Regions from separate parts of the Homo sapiens genome. Here region 1 is linked to region 2. The links are contacts of gene promoters, found by promoter capture Hi-C in blood cells and fetal thymus (Javierre and others, 2016). All regions are on one chromosome and are shown on one strand. The core of a region is centred on a gene start or on the middle of the fragment in contact, and the rest is flanking DNA. Distances in the headings are between cores, read along the strand shown. Region 1 holds the start of CASP6 (caspase 6). Region 2 holds the start of OSTC (oligosaccharyltransferase complex non-catalytic subunit).

Region 1 (5,298 bases), core at 2,515-5,014, 1.1 Mb before region 2:
ACCAATAAAAGAGTCACACAAATTTTCTGGTTTCCCAGTGCATATGAAAGTTTTTCATACTAAAGTGTAGTCTGTTAAGTGTGCAATAACATGTCTAAAAAAATAATGTATATACCTTAATTTTAAAATATTGCTAAAAGATGCTAGGGATCATCTGAGCCTTCAGCGAGTTATAAATGTTGGTGTGGGGTATTGTTGAGGGCTGCTGACTGATTAGGGTGGTAGTTGCTGAAGGCTGGGATGACTGGCAATCTCTTAAAATAAGGCAATAAGGAAGTTTGCTTCATTTTTTTGTTTGTTTTGAGATGGAGTCTCGTTCTGTCACTCAGGCTGGAGTGCAGTGGCATGATCTTGGCTCACTGCAACCTCTGCCTCCTGGTTCAAGTGATTCTTGTGCCTCAGCCTCCTGAGTAGCTGGGATTACAGGTGCCTGCCACCGTGCCCGGCTAATTTTTGTTATTTTTAGTAGAGACAGGGTTTTGCCATGTTGGCCAGTCTGGGCTCGAACTCCTGGCCTCCCAAAGTCCTGGGATTACAGGCATGAGCCACTGCACCTGGCCATCCATTGATTGTTCCATTCACTAAAGATTTCCCTGTAGCATGTGATGCTGTTTGGTAGCATTTTATCCACAGACCTTCTTTCAAAATTGGGGTCAATCCCCCCAAACCCTGCCACTGCTTTGTCAACTAATACCCTGAATCCTTTGTTGTCATTTAAACACAATTCACAGCATATTCACCAGGAGTAGATTCTATCTCAATAAACCACTTTCTTTGCTCATCCGTAAAAAGCATCTCCTCATCTATCAAAGTTTTATCATGAGATGGCAACAATGCAGCCACATTTTCAGGCCCCACTTCCAATTCTATTTGTCTTGCTACTTCTGCCACATCTACAGTGACTTCCCTCACTGAAGTCTTGAACCCCTCAACATCAGTGATGAGGATTGGAATTAACTTCTTTCAAACTCCTGTTAATGTGGAGATATATGCATATACCTATGTATAATGTATGTGTGTGTGTATATGTGTGTGTGTATATATATATATATATATATATATATATATATATATATAAAATGGATAGGTATGTTGTCCTGCCTGTAAAATACCACCCAGTGTGCCAATTGAAATATATATAATTTTTAAATATTTATATATGTATTTTATATATATTATATATATATATATATATATATATATATATTTTTTTTTTTTTTTTTTTTTTTTTTTTAAAGAGTGTCTTACTCTGTCACCCAGACTGGAGTGCAGTGGCACAGTCAGCTGACTGCAGCCTCAAACTTGGGCTCAAATAATCCTGCCATCTTAGTGTCCTGAGTTGCTGGGAATACAGGCATGTGCCACCACTCTTGGCTAATTAAAAAAAAAAAAAAATTGTAGAGACAGGGTCTTGCATTGTTGCCTAGGCTGGTCTCAAAACTCCTGGCCTCAAGCAATCCACCTTGGCCTCCCAAAGTGCTGGGTTTACAGGCATGAGCCACTGTGGCTGATACATGTACTTTTAATTTTTCGTTTTTCTTTTTTTCCCCCTCTAGTCTCTAGTTACATACCGTAAGTGGATATTTTGACCTCCCATGAATCACAAATGTTCTTAATGGCATCTCGAATGATGAATCCTTTCCAGAAGATTTTCAATTTACTTTGCTCAGAACTATCAGAGGAATCATGATGACAGCTATAGCCTTATGAAATGTATTTTGTAAATAAGACTTGAAAGTCAAAATTTCTCCTTGATCCCTGGGCTTCAGAATGGATGTTGTGTTAGCAAGCACGATAACAGCATCAGTCTCTGTACATCTCTATCAGAACTCTTGGATGACCAGGTGTATTGTCAATGAGGAGTAATATTTTGAAAGGAACCTTTCTTCTGAGCACTAGAGCTCAACAGTGGGCTTTAAATATTCTCTAAGCCATGCTGTAAATAGATGTGCTGTCACTAACTAGCCTTTGTTGGTCCATTTATAGATCATATTTAGCATAATTCTTAAGGGCACTAGGATTTTCAGAATGGTAAAGGAATGTTGGCTTTAAAGTCATCAGTTGTATTAGCCCCTAACAAGAGCATCAGCCTGTTCTTTGAAGCTTTGAAGACAGGCATTGACTTCTCTCTAGCTATGAAAGTCTTAGATGGAATCTTCTTCCAATAGAAGGCCGTTTCATATACATTTAAGATCTGTTGTTTTGGCTGGGCACGGTGGCTCACACCTGTAATCCCAGCACTTTGGGAGACCGAGGCGGGCAGATTGCTCAAGGTCAGGAGTTCAAGACCAGCCTGGCCAAACATGGTGAAACTCTGTCTCTACTAAAAATACAAAATTAACCTGGACATGGTGGCACATCCTGTAATCCCAGTTACTTGGGAGGCTGAGGCAGAAGAATCGTTTGAACCCAGGAGGCAGAGGTTGCAAAAGATCGCACCACTGTACTCCAGCCTTGGTGACAAAGCAAGACTGTCTCAAAAACAAAAGATTGTTGTTTAGTGTAGCTGCCTTTATCAATGATTTTAGCTAGATCTGGATAACCTGATGCAGCTTCTACGTTAGCACCTGCTGCTTCACCTTGCACTTTTATGTCATGAAGATAGTTTCTTTCCTTAAACCTCAGGAACCATCCTCTCTGCTAGCTTCCAGCTTTTCTTTTGCAATTCCCTCACCTCTCTCAGCCTCCATAGAATTGAAGAGTTAGGGCCTTGCTCTGGATTAGGCTTTGGCTTAAGGGAATGTTGTGGCTGTTTTTATCTTCTATCCAGACCAACTAGAACTTTCTCCATATCAGCAATAAGGCTGTTTAGCTTTATTGTCTTTTGTGTGTTTACTGGAGTAGCATTTTTAATTTCCTTCAAAATTTTTTCCTTTGCATTCATGACTTGGCTTTTCTCCTTTGCACTCACAACTTGGCTAACTGGAGCAAGAAGCCTAGCTTTCTGCCTACCAACATTACTTCCTCACTAACTTAATCATGTTTGCTTTTGATTTAAAGTGACAGGCTCTTCCTTTCATTTGGACACTTAGAGGCCTTTGTAGGATTATTAGTTGGCCTAATTTCAAAATTGTGTTTCCAGGAATAGGGAGGCCCCAGGAGGGGGAGAGAGAAGGGAAAGTTCGGTGGAACAGTCCAAACACATACAGGGCTTATGGATTAATTTCCCCTTCCTTTATGAGCGCGGTTCATGGTGCCCCAAAACAATTGCAATAATATTAAAGATTACTGATCACAGATCACAACAGCAGACATAATAACAATGAAAAATTTTGAAATATTGCGAGAGTACCAAAATGTGACACAGAGACACAAAGCGAGCCAATGTTGAAATACAGGCAGTATCTGCTAAGCGGTATAAAACAATCTATGCCTGTACCTCTAGAAAGTACAGGCATAGCAAAGTAAGGAATAGCAAATGTTTGGGGCAGCTGGGATTAAATGAGTCCGAGCTCACACAAGTGATGTGAAATTGCCTCGGGCTAGGCGGTCTGTGTGTCCCCCCGGGTGGCAACTGGCATGTCCCCAGGGCACGGTTAGTCCCAGCGGGCCTGGAGGCGAAGACCGCGTACCTCTCCCTGCCCCCGCGCTCTTGGTCCCCGCGGGCTCCGGAGCGACTGGGAGGAGCTTTAACTCTGGGAAGGACCAGCCCGATCCACGGGAGCCCGGGCGGCGCGCAATCAGAACCAACTGGCCCCACGCTCGGGGGCAGGGGGCGGGGCCGCCGAGGAAGGGCCGAGGGCGGGGCCGGGCCCGGGAGCCTGTGGCTTCAGGAAGAGGAGGGCAAGGTGTCTGGCTGCGCGTTTGGCTGCAATGAGCTCGGCCTCGGGGCTCCGCAGGGGGCACCCGGCAGGTAGGCAGGGGGCGTCGACTGGGCACCGAGCAGGTCTGCGTCTTGCTCCGGCTGGAGGGGAAACGAGGGTTAGTGGACCGGGCGCGCGGACCGGAGTGGGGCCGCGGGTTCCTTCGGCTTTGCAGGGCGGCCTGGAGAAGTTGCACTCTTGGATTGAAGCGCTCAGGGCGGGTGGGGACGGTTTCGCGCTTCAGTCTAAGAAACACTCGGGGACCTGGCTGCCGCCTCCTGGCGGTCCCGAGTAGCGACGCCGGCGCCGGGGCGTGCCCCTGCCGCCTTTGTCCTCCGGGGCGATGAGCGCTTTCGGGGCGCCCCGGCTGTTTAAACCTTAAAAGGCTGTCCCCACGCGGGCCTGGCGTTCCCCCACACCTGGCCGTTTGAAATGTTGGGGGTTGGATCTTTTGTTTGCTCACTTCGAAAAGTGAAAAGGAGGGGTTGTTCCGCCGAGTCATAATGAAAACATAACAGGCCCGCGGGGTGCCCGGGCCAAGACCCTGGGTCCTCCCGGGCTTCAGCTGGAGGCGGCCAGTTCCTGGCGGCCAGCACACCCCGGTATCTCTCTTCTTCATCCAGGAAACCTGCTGCTGTCTGTCGGTTTGAGCCAAAACCACAATAACTTTTTTCTGCAAAGTAATCAACTGCTAAGAGCGTACGTTCTGTCACTTATTACTGGTAAAGTTTAGAAACTTCAAGCCTGGCCAGAGTGAAACAAACAAAAAGGTCGAAACGCCTGCAGTTGGCCGGCCGTGGTGGCTCACGCCTTGTAATCCCAACACTTTGGGAGGCCGAGGCGGGCGGATCACCAGAGGTCGGGAGTTCTCGACCAGCCTAACTAACACGGTGAAACCCCGTCTCTACTAAAAATACAAAAAAATTAGCCAGGCCTGGGCGCAAGCTACTGGGGAGGCTGAGACAAGAGAATCGTTTGAACCCTGGAGGTGGAGGTTGCAGTGAGCCGAGATCGCCCCACTGCACTCCAACCTCGGCGACAGAGTGAGACTTCGAATCAAGAAGAAAAAAAAAAAAAAAGAACGAAACGCCTGCAGTTGGTTAGAGTGCCTTTGTTTAAGAACTCTTTATATTTTGCTGCACAAAGGAAATGGTGCTCCAGAGGCAAGCTGTAAAAGTCACATGGTCGTAGAGGAGGTAGATAGGTAGCCTTGTCCTGGAGGCACAGTGCAGGGTCCAGTTGCAGTCTCTAGGGGCGGGAAGCCGGGGCTTTCCTTCACTCACCTGCTCCCTTCCTCTTCTTCCTCCACCGCACTCCCCAGTGCATGTTCTAGGCCTGATGGAGGTTACTCTACATAGGGTTACTAAATACATTGTTGATGGAGCCGATGGGTAGATTTTCATAGAGAGTGCAGTGAATGAAGACGATGACAGTAGAATGACCGAAGTCGTTTGGGAAGTTGAACAAAGTTTAGAAAGGTAGCCGGTCTCGGGTG
Region 2 (5,301 bases), core at 2,092-4,591:
AACTCCCAGGGCTTTCAATTTCATGTGCTAAAGACTCTCAATGTGATGTGCCAAGGCCTCTCAAATAATGCCAGTACCATTAGAATTACATGTAAGCTCCTCAAGAACAGAGACTTTGGACTTTGCCTATACTCTTCAATGTCTCATGGGAGTTCCAGAAATGTCTGTTAGTTGACCAACTTCAACACAGGCCTCTTTTCTCAGGTCTAGACTCCCATCTGCACATGTGACATATCCAACTAATTTTACCCCAAAACAACCTCTGGTGCACCATTTTCCACCAAAAACTTTGTTTTCTCAATCTCAGGAAATGATACTTCCATCTATTCAGGAGCTCAAACCAGAAACCTGTAAGATTCCTTCCCACTTCATTCTTCCCCTACACCCAGTGAATTCAAGACCTACTGAATCTACTTCCAACATATCTTTCATTATATTATCCTAATCTCCACTACCATAAACCTTGTATAGTCTAAGTCAACTACAAAGGCCACCTAATTGGTCTTTTGGTCTCACATTTGCCCTACGTTTCCCTCTGCCTAGCATATCCTTTCCCCGAACTCTTCAGATTTTGGCTTACATATCATTTCCTCAGGAATCATATCGAATCCAATCCAGATGATGCTTCCAACTCCCTTTAGTTTCTCAAAAACCTCTTGTTCTTTTCTTTCACTGTATTTATAACCATTGTTTGTTTGTTTTTATTTTTTGAGAGAGGGTCGGGTCTTGCTCTGTCACCCTGGCTGGAGTGCAGTGGTGCCATCACAGCTTACTGCAGCCTCAGCTTCCCAGGCTCAGGCGATCCTCCCACTTCAAACTCCTGCACCATAGTCCCAGCTACTTGGGACTACAGGCGTGCGCCACCAGGCTCAGCTAATTTTGGGGTTTGTTTTTTGTTTCTGAAACAGGGCCTTGCTCTGTTGCCCAGGCTGGAGTGCAGTGGCACCATCTCGGCTCACTGCAACCTTCACCTCCCGGGTACAAGCAATTCTCCTGCCTCAGCCTCACAAGTAGCTGGGACTACAGGCGTGTACCACCACGCCTGGTTAATTTTTTGTATTTTCAGTAGAGACAGGGTTTCGCCATGTTGCCCAGGCTGGCCTCGAACTCCTGGGCTCAAATGATCCAACTGGCTCAGGCTCCCAAAGTGTTGGATTACAGGCGTGAGCCACTGCGCCTGGCCTGTTTTTGTGAACATTTTTAACGGACAAAAAAATTAAGTGACATTTAATATGTCTCATCTATGACATTATAAGCTTCAGGAGGTCAGGGTCCTTATGTTTTGTTCTATTATCTCCAGTACCTAGTGCCTGAAACTTAACGGGACTCAGTATCTATTTGCTGACTATTTGTCAGCAACAAATAGTTTATTTATAAAGGTGCACTCAGTTTTTAGAAGAGACTTCTTCCCTTCCAGTGGCAAAACCAATTCATCATACAAGATACCTCATAGACCTGGCCACTAAAAAGCAACCTTTCCACTTTCCCCCAATGGTTGGGACAAAGAATCTCCCCATTACAATAATCAACAGGAGAAAAAAGAGGGCCACAAAGAAAACTGAGGCTTCTCGCAAAGAATCCGACTCCAAGGGAAGTAAGGGTTACAGGAAAGAAACTAGCATTATTCATTATTATTATTGAATAATGACTTTTTTTTTGTCCAACGACCTTCGTGAACTGTGCAAAAATATGGAACGCTTCACGAATTTGCGAGTCATTCTTGCACAGGGGCCATGGTAATCTTCTCCCTATCATTCCAATTTTAGTATATGTGCTGCCGAAGCGAGCACTCAATAATAATACTGAATTATTCTATATTATTTATTTTTAAAAGTCTATTATTTTTAAAAGCCACATGCATTTTAAATTTTGTTTATTCAGTACAGTAGCTATTAACTTGATGAGCAAATGTTAATGGTTAATGCTAATGCAATGCTAGATAGTATCTTGTTACCAAATAAGTATTTAAATGTAACTCAAATATTTAAATGTAATTTATTTAAATGAACGTAAGTTAATTCTCACTATTCTAGATTGGGGGAAGGAGGTAAATTCAAAGGTGCTTTCTAGAACTCAGCTCTCTCAGTTTGAATCCTCCCCCTTCAGTGCCAACTATTCTCACAAAACATCTATGAAAATAACAATTATATGGCCACTCCCTTAAAAGTAGAACTACTTTTGCTATCCCAAATCCGTAGCTTTAATTTTATAATTTCCAGGTTAAGTACACCACTTCCCAAAATCTAAATTAATTTTATAATTTCCAAGTTAAGTACACCACTTCCCCAAATCTAAATGTACACAGTAGCACAGTTCTAAGTAAATCTTGGAACTGTGGCCTGAAAGGGTAGTGGCTCTGAAAAGACTAGCCGGATTGCCAACTCACCAGTACATAAGGCAACGCCCCTTTGCAATTTTCTATTTGAAAAGGACAGAATAAGATGATAGACAATTCAGAAGCGTTTAATAGTAATGCTATTTATCTTATTTTTTTAATTCTCAACTTCTGCCCACTGAAATACAGTATCGTCTGCAAATCTCATCTCCAATCTCAAATATTTATCAAACCTGTGATTTCAGAAAATTCCATTGATATTTATTGTAGGTCATGCAAAAGGCAACACAGAACCCTAGGTTTGAGCCAACAAAACTAAAGATTGTCAAGTCTCTTCCAAGATTCCAGGACAAAGATAAGTTTAAAAGTCCCACAAGCTCTTGACCAACCATGGAAGCGGAGTTGGCCAAATTAGACCTTCCCAGGACCTTTATCAAACAACCAACCATGGAAACGGAGTTTGCCAAATTAGGCTTTCCCAGGACATTTATCAAACAACGTATGGCAAGCAACAAAAAGAGCAACAATTTGGCCTTGAAAAATATATTTGACTCGGATCCCTGGGATGGGAGGGCTAGAAGGAGAAGAAAGGCAATGGGAGTGAGAACACGAATTCTCTTAAGACAGGGCGTGAAGGCGAATAAACTTGGACGTTAACACTTCGGACCCCAGAACTCCCCTCCACCCTCAGAAAAGATCCAAAGCAGAGCTATGCTTCCCCCGGGGCTGAGAGTCAGCGGAACAGACGCGCCTCCCGGGGCGGGTCAGTTCTCCGCTCCTCAGCCTCTCGGGCCCGACAGCCCGAGTTACCTCCGGTGATGAGGAAGTAAGACACCACCACCAGAGCATACACAGTCATGGCCGACGGCATGTGCAACCAGGGCGGCTTCTTCAGCTTCAGGTTGGGACATTCGAGCACTAAGAACGGGACACGGTACAAAGTCTCCATGTTGGTGGCAGCAAGGGCCGTTCTCGGCCTCAAGCCCCACGCGCCTCCCGGAAACAGGCCCGCCCTCCCTAACAAGTGCGCGTGCGCGAGGAAAGGACCCGCAGATCCGTAAAGCTCGGAGGTGGTTACTATACTCATAGAAGAAAATAAGAAACTAAATAAAACAAATAAATGATATGAATAAAGTGTTGTAAATTATTTAATCTAATTAAACTTACATTGTGATAATGTACTCTACATTTTTCTAATGGATATATAGGTGATTTGTGTACCTTCAAGGACCTGCGGGACTTCTAACGTGGCCAAGCCGGAGAAGCGGAGGCCAAGGAATCTAGGTGAGCCCCGCCCACTCGCTGACGCAGGGGATTTGAAAGCTGATTGGACAGGGGGCGCTCCCGGTTCCCAGAGCGGGAGATGAATGGGAACTTTTGGATATAAATGCCTTTTATATTAGAGGTTTTTTCAAGGGTTAGGAAAAGCCGGAGGCTGCTGAGCTTTTACTTCCCGATGTAGTCGTGGTAATAATAAGAATTAATAATAGTTGCTAAAGTAATATGTTACCAATTTTTTTTAAACATCCAGCCTGGATCACAAATGTCAACAGGACATCTCTACAGGGATGCCTTAATGCTGATAGCTTGGCGTGACCATAATACTATTTTGAATAACTCATCCTCTCAACTTTGCTCTTCCCTTGGTCATCTGTATGTCGCTAAAAGGTAAAATCCCTCTGGCCAAAAATCTTAAAGTCGTCTGGATTTCTCTCCTTACTAACCTTCTGCATCCAAAATATTAGTAGGTCTCTTTGGCTGTACTACCAAAATATCTCCAATTCATCTGCCCCTCACCATTCCACCACTGACACCCTAGTGTGAACCACCGCCATCTCTGGTCTGGGCAACATTTACAATCCAAATAGATGAAAATATATGATGGAGAATTAGTCATTAGGGATGGACTAGAAGGTCTAAAAGATTTTTTGTTTTCTGTTTTGCTTTTCTTTTTTATATAATCTTTTAAGACTCTACAAATGTTAACTTCCTTTTGGAGCAAGAGTTAAGAGTCACTGATTACATAAGTCCAGAGCATATTGACACATTATAGAGCCAATGTTTTTATATTTTTTTATTTGCTTGTTACTAAGCCCGTGGTTATTTTTACAGGATGCCATGTATTGGTTCTGCACTTCTAATTAGCTAACAACTCAATTGTTAAGAAATTGCTTGAAGACGGTAATGAAAATACTATCAAAACATTGTAGTATCCAATTCTAAGTACAGTTGAGGCTTGCTGCCCTTACTGTTCATTAGTGAGAGTCTCTCCCAGAGTCATATTGCCTATGTCTTAACGGAGCCACACGAATCTTAGGTTATGTAAAGGCCAATGATAACACCAATAATGAATGCATTTACACCAAAACCAGCGTTTATATGTAGGAAGTTTCTCTGGGCACTGTAAAGCAGAATGTTTCTGAAATTCCCACAGTTTTATAAGTAAGGAACACTTTGGAACAATTAAAATATTTTGCTTTGGTATGAAGAAAAAAATAAAAATAAAACATTTTGCTTTGGAAAAACATAGGGATTAAAGGTTTTTAAATTTCCTTTATAGCTTAAAAAGGAATCTAACATTAATTAACCACTGCTTGGCAGGTACTATGTTAAGTGATTTACATTTGTGCTTATATACTCTTCATGACAATTCTGTTAGGTAAATACTAGTATAACTGCTTTACATATGACAAAAGTGGCTCCTGGGAAGGGAAATAAACTCAAAAAGTGTAGTATAGTCTGTGACTGGATGAGACCTAAAAGGCAATTGCTGTAGAAGTAAATAGATTTAAGACGTTTAAAATGGTATACGTTTATATACTTATCCTTCTTCCTGTGTATACTAGGGACACATAATTTCTACCTACATTGTGGAAAACATATAAATTATTAATATATAATTTTTAAATGAAAAATTAATTTCATAAATAATAAAACTGCCAAGTCAGAACACACTGCATTCATCT

The links. The method cuts DNA at HindIII sites, captures the fragments that hold promoters and counts their contacts. A CHiCAGO score of 5 or more calls a contact.
Region 1: a contact is called between the fragment with the promoter of CASP6 here and the fragment with the promoter of OSTC in region 2, in 4 of 17 cell types (total CD8 T cells, M1 macrophages, fetal thymus and 1 more). The highest score is 11.7, in total CD8 T cells.

The regions. Positions count from the first base shown.
Region 1 is chr4:109,701,911-109,707,208 of GRCh38, reverse strand. CASP6 (caspase 6) reads left to right here and starts at 3,764. Exons shown (of 7, transcript NM_001226.4): 1 at 3,764-3,853. The coding sequence starts at 3,814. RefSeq lists enhancers at 3,343-3,392, 4,283-4,342, 5,103-5,162 and silencers at 3,553-3,842, 3,993-4,102. The HindIII fragment of the contact is 4,197 bases long and covers 2,106-5,298 here.
Region 2 is chr4:108,648,639-108,653,939 of GRCh38, reverse strand. It overlaps OSTC (oligosaccharyltransferase complex non-catalytic subunit), which reads right to left and starts at 3,341. Exons shown (of 4, transcript NM_021227.4): 1 at 3,146-3,341. The coding sequence starts at 3,284. It also overlaps the pseudogene RNU6-431P. RefSeq lists enhancers at 431-945, 2,388-2,437, 3,052-3,401. The HindIII fragment of the contact is 4,127 bases long and covers 1,259-5,301 here.